Linked DNA regions of Homo sapiens: region 2 is linked to region 1. The links are contacts of gene promoters, found by promoter capture Hi-C in blood cells and fetal thymus (Javierre and others, 2016). All regions are on one chromosome and are shown on one strand. The core of a region is centred on a gene start or on the middle of the fragment in contact, and the rest is flanking DNA. Distances in the headings are between cores, read along the strand shown. Region 1 holds the start of RSC1A1 (regulator of solute carriers 1). Region 2 overlaps PLEKHM2 (pleckstrin homology and RUN domain containing M2).

Region 1 (3,560 bases), core at 1,032-3,531:
GGTTAAAAGCAGGCATAGTTGAATTATTCTTAATATCCACTGTCCTCATCCTCTTCTCCTGTCATTCTGTAAACTGACCTAGTCCTCCCCTACGTTTAGGACTTAGGCTAGTGAAACTGACCTTCTCAGCTACAAGAGGACTATATGCTACTTTTTTAGTACAAAATTCATTGAGGGTGTGTTCACCTTGACCTCACTTGTTTATAACTAACACACAAATACCAGAAGGCCCTTACCATACCTCTTTATGTTGCTTACATGGATATTTCACTACAGTGCATTGTTTCTGTTAACATTAGTTCAAAATTCAACCTCTTCCAGAGTCAGCCTTAGTTTTAAATAAAACTAATAACTGTTAGACATCTGGTGGTATGAAAATAAAAAAACTAATAACTGTGTTTCTAGACTCTAATGGGTATAGCCTAAACTGAGATAAGTGCAGTTTTCCTTTTTACTCCTAAAGTGTAAGTAAGGTAAGATTGTTTCATGGGAAGTCAATAGCTTCCTGAAACAATGCTTTGTCTTCTCATGCTGTTAACCAGTAGTTTATTAGAATGATTTAAAGCCTTTTGAATATAACTGCTTTGCTGCTTTTTAAGATCAAGCCCTCTTGTTGGATGTTAACATTTAGTACTGAGCATTTGAGTTGCATCTGTCCTAATAATAGATTGTATTTTGAAGTCATTTTTGTTACTGACCTTTTGATTTTTATTTTTTATTATTATTATTTTTTATTTTGACTGAGTTTCACTCTGTCACCCAGGCTGGAGTGCAGTGGTGCAGTCTTGGCTCACTGCAACCTCTCCCTCCTGGGTTCAAGCAATTCTCCCACCTCAGCCTACCTAGTAGCTGGGATTACAGGCACCCACCACCACGCCTGGCTAATTTTTGTATTTTTAGTAGAGATGAGGTTTCACCACGTTGGCCAGGCTGGTCTCGAACTCCTGACCTCAGGTGATCCACCTGCCTCGGCCTCCCAAAGTGCTGGGATTACAGGCATGAGCCACTGTGCCCAGCCCTTTTTGATTTTTAATTAAAGATCTTACAATGGTCGGGTGCGGTGGCTCTTGCCTGTAATCCAAGCACTTTGGGAGGCTGAGGCGGGCGGATCACCTGAGGTCAAGAGTTTGAGACCACCCTGACCAACGTGGAGAAACCTCATCTCTACTAAAAATGCAAAATTAGTCGGGTGTGTGGCGCATGCATGTAATCCCAGCTACTCTGAGGCAGGAGAATCGCTTGGACCCGGGAGGCGGAGGTTGCGGTGAGCTCAGATGGCGCCATTGTACTCCTGTCTGGGCAACAAGAGCAAAACACAGTCTTAAAAAAAAAAAAAAATTCTTACACTTACATGCGTAGAGGTCAATTTTTAACTGGATTGGTGGCAAAAGAAGAGCTGGAAATGATGTTTAATGATACTATGATGCTTACACTGAGCCGTCTTGTTTGGGTGGTCTAAGGTAGCAGTGAATCTAAATAGTCATTGCCAGTTGAAAAACTATTAATGAACCATCTCCCTCCACATTCCCCTTTCTTTAAAACATTTAAATATTCTTAACTTAGTTGCACACTATTGATGTGATAAAAACTTATAAGCCTTTTAAGTTTAGAGTTGTATTATTTGGTAGGATGATGATTGTGATTTAATCTGCTGATCATTAGTTTACTTTTGTTTTCTGAGTCAGATGCTCACCCAGTTTTACCATGATTTTTGGAAAGCTTGGCTAGAAATAAAATAGAACATTTGCTTCTCTGTCCCCAAGCATTATGTTATTTCTTATTTCTCTTTATAATTCCCTCTCTGTCCAGGTATACCTGGTTTAAGACTTCTCATTTGTAACCTCAGTGTTCACATTTGAAACAAGAAAAGTGCATTAACATGAGAATCATTCTGGTGCAAAGATTCTCAGGATTTGTAATATCCTTAAGAATCACCCAAGGAGCTTATTGAAAATGCACATTCCTGGATTTACTCTCAAGTATGGTACCCCAGGGTCTGCATACTTCACAAGCGTCCCTGGTGGTTTTAGGGCAAGTGGTGAAAAAAGTACACTTGGAGAAACTATTCTAGAGTTGTAGACTAGACTAGGGAATAAAGAAACATAAATGTCCTTCATTCCTGAGCACTAACCCCGCCATTATGTGAATGCATATTAATGGATACTTAATCACATTGAATTACAGTATGCAGATTTTATTAAGAACATGTCTACCTCTTATTCTGATGCTGTGAATGTCTACCACAATGAGAAAGTAATTTTAAAATCATTTCTATTTGTGTAAGAGAAACCCGAGTTTGAGGACCTTATTTTATTCTACGCTGTTTAGATTTGTATCCTCTGGTAATTTAGTGGCATTAGTCACCTGCTAATTAATCTTTTTCCTTTCCCCTGTGTTCCATATAGAGAAAAGTGGTAAAGAATCTACCTCACTGGGAATGTCATCATTACCAACTTCAGATGGGTTTAACCATCCCGCCCGTTCTTCAGGACAGAGTCCTGATGTTGGTAATCCTATGAGTCTTGCTCGCTCTGTCTCTGCTTCAGTCTGCCCTATCAAGCCCAGTGACTCAGATCGCATTGAACCTAAAGCTGTGAAGGCTTTGAAGGCTTCAGCTGAATTCCAGCTAAACTCTGAAAAGAAAGAACATCTTTCTTTACAAGATCTTTCTGATCATGCTTCCTCAGCAGACCATGCTCCAACAGACCAGAGTCCAGCTATGCCTATGCAGAATTCATCCGAAGAAATAACTGTTGCAGGTAATCTGGAGAAATCTGCTGAAAGAAGCACCCAGGGCCTCAAATTTCATCTCCATACAAGACAGGAAGCTAGTTTATCTGTCACATCTACTAGGATGCATGAACCACAGATGTTTCTAGGTGAAAAGGATTGGCATCCAGAAAATCAGAACCTGAGTCAAGTGAGTGACCCTCAGCAGCACGAAGAACCAGGGAATGAACAGTATGAGGTTGCACAACAAAAAGCTTCACATGACCAAGAATATCTTTGTAACATAGGGGACCTTGAGCTTCCTGAAGAAAGGCAACAGAATCAACACAAAATTGTTGATTTGGAAGCTACGATGAAAGGAAATGGGCTCCCACAGAATGTGGATCCTCCAAGTGCGAAGAAAAGTATTCCATCTTCAGAATGCAGTGGCTGCTCAAATTCAGAAACATTTATGGAAATCGATACAGCTCAACAGTCCCTAGTTACTTTGCTTAATTCAACAGGCAGGCAGAATGCCAATGTCAAGAACATTGGTGCATTGGATCTCACTTTAGATAATCCCTTGATGGAAGTAGAAACATCAAAATGTAACCCTTCATCTGAAATTTTGAATGATTCCATTTCCACTCAGGATTTACAGCCCCCAGAAACTAATGTTGAAATACCTGGAACAAATAAAGAATATGGCCATTACTCCTCTCCAAGTCTCTGTGGCAGTTGTCAGCCTTCTGTGGAGTCAGCAGAAGAATCTTGCCCGTCTATAACGGCAGCCTTGAAAGAACTTCATGAACTTTTGGTTGTTAGCAGTAAACCAGCTTCAGAAAATACAT
Region 2 (3,456 bases), core at 101-2,600, 59 kb after region 1:
AGGAATTTAAGGCTGTATTGAGCTGTGATCACACCACTATACTCCAGCCTGGGTGACAGAGTCTCTGTCTCAAAAAATAAAATAATAGTAATAAATAATAAATTTATAAAATGCCAGCCCCCTCCATGAGGCCTCTTTTCTCCCCACATATGATGGTTTTTTGGCACAGCAGTGATGGGGAGAAAGAGGGCGAGCTGCCAGCGAGAGCTGGACTCTTATGGAATCCCAGCCTGAGCACGTGCTATGGAGTCTGGTTTCTCTCCCTGAGCTGGGATCACTGTTAGCCTACAGGATCAGTGCAGAGTCCTGGCGTTTCTTGACCTGTCTGAAGTGTGCAGTCTGCCCTCTTTATCAGAATTTCCTGGCCAGCTACATGCTGAGGTCTGACTAGGAAAATAAAGCACTCAGGGGTTATGGTACCCCACCAAGCACAAAGGCCACTGAAGTGCCTGGTCCCATTACCTGCTCTTTCTTTCCTTTCTGCGCTTGCTTGGCAAATAAAAGCCAGCAGTCTGAGAGGCCTTCCTGCCGGTTACTCCTGCCTTTGTTTGCAGGCCGTGCCTGGCTGTACCTGGCCCTCAACGAGAACTCCTTGGAGAGCTACCTGCGGTTGTTCCAGGAGAACCTGGGCCTGCTGCATAAGTACTACGTCAAGTGAGTGTCTGGGACGGTCTGTCTCCCCTAGCCTCAGAGCTCCCTTTCAGCTACCTCCCAAAGGCTCTTGTCATGCAGACAGCACAGTGTGCCACATCAGTGATGCCAGAGAGCCATTAGAACCTTGCCAGTAGCTGGGTAGCCTTCACCAGGAGCACCGGTGTCCCATCTGGGCTCCTGGGTACAGTCTGGGTCTCTGCTGCTCCCTGGTCCTCCTCCCAGGCTTCAGACCTGACCAGTGCCCATGCTTTGGCTCAGCCTTTGCTGGGGTTGCTGCAGGAACAGAGTGTGTACAGCAGCTGCTGAGAGCCTGACAAGCCTTGTGCTCGTCCATCTCTGAAGACACTGGCAGGACAGTGCAGTGTGGCTGCTAACCCAGTAGGAGATCGCTGAGAGGGTGGTGGGCAACAGCTATATCAAGCTGGGTGCCGTCCAAGGTGGAGGACATCACGTGTCAGATTTCAACACAGCTGGTATGTTGGTAAGGTTAGGCCAGGCTGGTAAACAGACCCAGAGGCACCATCGTGGCTTCTCATGTCTTGCAGGAATGCCCTGGTCTGCAGCCACGATCACCTGACGCTCTTCCTGACCTTGGTGTCCGGGCTAGAGTTCATTCGTTTCGAGCTGGATCTGGTGAGACACCAGGGCTCTCACTGCTTGTGGGAAGCAGAGGAGGGGGCAGGGTGGGGGCAGGGTGGGCGGTGGCTTCATTTCTCAGGTCTTGTTGAGGGAGCTTGTTGAGTATGACTGGGCTTGAGCAAAACTTGTTTTTTTGGGCGAGGGAAAGGTTTCAGGGTCCATCGAATTGAGTGAGAAGAGAAGTGATGGCAAGAATTCCTGGTTCAGGTGACTTTTTCCTATCTCCCTATCCAACTTGGAGAAAAGCCACATTGCCTGGAGTATCTTAGCCCAGAAGAACTGGCCTTCATGTTTAGGATGTGAAGAGTTAGAAGGACAAGGCAGTTTCAGCCTGGTGCTTCTGGGGTTCTGAAAAGTGTCATCAGCTCCATGAAGAGCCTTCAGCCACCCTCTTCAAGTTCTCAAGTTTCTCTCCCCATCACACCCTGTACAAATGGGATGCTGGCCCACATAGAGCCAAAGAGGCTCCCAGGCACCTCTTGGACTGGGCTCAAAATGGATGCAGCTGCCCCGTCCTAATCAAATGACCTTCCTTGGGCCAGGCGCAGTGGCTCACACCTATAATCCCAGCACTTTGGGAGGCTGAGGTGGGTGGATCACCTGAGGTCAGGAGTTCGAGACCAGCCTGGCCAACATGGCGAAACCTCGTCTCTACTAAAAAAATACAAAAGTTAGCGGGGTGTGGTGATGGGCGCCTATAATCTCAGCTACTTGGGAGGCTGAGGCAGGAGAATCGCTCGAACCCGGGAGGTGGAAGTTGCAGTGAGCCGAGCCACGTCATTGCACTCCAGCCAGGGCAACAGAGTGAGACTCTGTCTCAAAAAAAAAAATAAATAAATAGAGAGAGAGAGAGATAGCGGGGGCATCAAAGGGTGTAGCTGAGTTCTGACAGCTCTGTCTTCCATCAGCCTGAAGTCCACAGCTTTAAAAGCCAACACTATTCACATTGCTCTTCTTAGCAGCTTTTCTTTGAATTTACTACCTTAAGCCATTGATTTCCCAAAGAGGCACATCTGTGTCTCCCAGGCCTGGATCCTGCTGTCTGCAGAAGGCCGCTGCACGAGGCCTCCCACCAAACGGGCCTCCTCTACTCTCTCCTCAGGATGCCCCTTACCTAGACCTGGCCCCCTACATGCCCGACTACTACAAACCTCAGTACCTGCTGGACTTTGAAGACCGCCTTCCCAGCTCGGTCCACGGCTCAGACAGTCTGTCCCTCAACTCTTTCAACTCCGTCACCTCCACCAACCTGGAGTGGGATGACAGTGCGATTGCCCCATCTAGTGAGGGTGAGTGGCCCCAGGGCAGAAAAGCTAAGCCCCTGTTGTGAAACAGACTTGAACTGCTTAAGCCTGGCTGGGTGATGTCTTCCTTGGCTAGTTTTGGTCTGGTGGCTGAAATTTGCAATTAAACAGGGCTGGCCATTTCCCAGATCTTCATCTCCTCAGAGTCCCTGTGGTGGCTAAAAAGTGGATTCTGGGCACAAAAAGCTGAAATTATATATATATATATATATATAAAATATATATTTTTTAAGGTTAGACCCTTTTCCAGAAGGTTCTAGTCACATGCCTGTGGCAGTTTTCTAAGCAAGGAAGGTTTAGCAGTGGGACCTGGAAACCTTGTCGCAGGGTTGAGTGTTGCCTGTTCTGGGGAGCTTGTCTGACCCCACATTCTTTGCAGAAGGAGGTTAAGCAACCCCTAGAAGAAGAGAGAACCAGGCAGGTCTGAAGCGCAGGGAAACCTTGCCACTGTGTCCTGTGTGTCCGTCCGATTTCTCTGAGTTCCTTCTGCGCTCGCTGATGTGTTTGGGATGGTCGCACCCTTTGCATCAGGGACCGAGGAAGAAGCTGCAGGTCATTTTGTTGTCTTGACCCAATGATTTACTGGAACAGCCTGGTTTCTTTCAAACCTTAGGCCCTGGTGTTCATGGATAAAACTGGCCATTTTCCCCTCTTTATCTCCTGTAGGAGACCAGAGCCCTTCATTTACTTCACCCCACCACCTCACCTCCAGGGAAGGGGATCCCAGCCCCAATTTAGCCCTGGGGCACCCTAGAATTGCCTCAGCATTGAGACCTTGACCTTCCCCTTTCTTTATTTCTGCTGTACCACGGGTTATATGTCCCAGGAAGGGAGGTCCCTCTCAAACTTGCTGTTAGCA

The links. Contacts are between HindIII fragments. The CHiCAGO score rates a contact against its expected background, and 5 or more counts as called.
Region 2: a contact is called between a fragment that was not itself captured here and the fragment with the promoter of RSC1A1 in region 1, in 2 of 17 cell types (M1 macrophages and M2 macrophages). The highest score is 5.3, in M1 macrophages.

What each region holds. Positions count from the first base shown.
Region 1 is chr1:15,657,432-15,660,991 of GRCh38, forward strand. RSC1A1 (regulator of solute carriers 1) reads left to right here and starts at 2,282. Exons shown (of 1, transcript NM_006511.3): 1 at 2,282-3,560. The coding sequence starts at 2,438. DDI2 (DDI proteasomal shuttling factor 2) reads left to right here. Exons shown (of 10, transcript NM_032341.5): 10 at 2,406-3,560. The HindIII fragment of the contact is 1,265 bases long and covers 1,718-2,982 here.
Region 2 is chr1:15,717,339-15,720,794 of GRCh38, forward strand. It overlaps PLEKHM2 (pleckstrin homology and RUN domain containing M2), which reads left to right. Exons shown (of 20, transcript NM_015164.4): 4 at 555-654; 5 at 1,200-1,287; 6 at 2,396-2,582. Among named protein-coding and RNA genes, the nearest start is that of SLC25A34, 17 kb to the right of the region's middle. The HindIII fragment of the contact is 5,509 bases long and covers 1-3,456 here.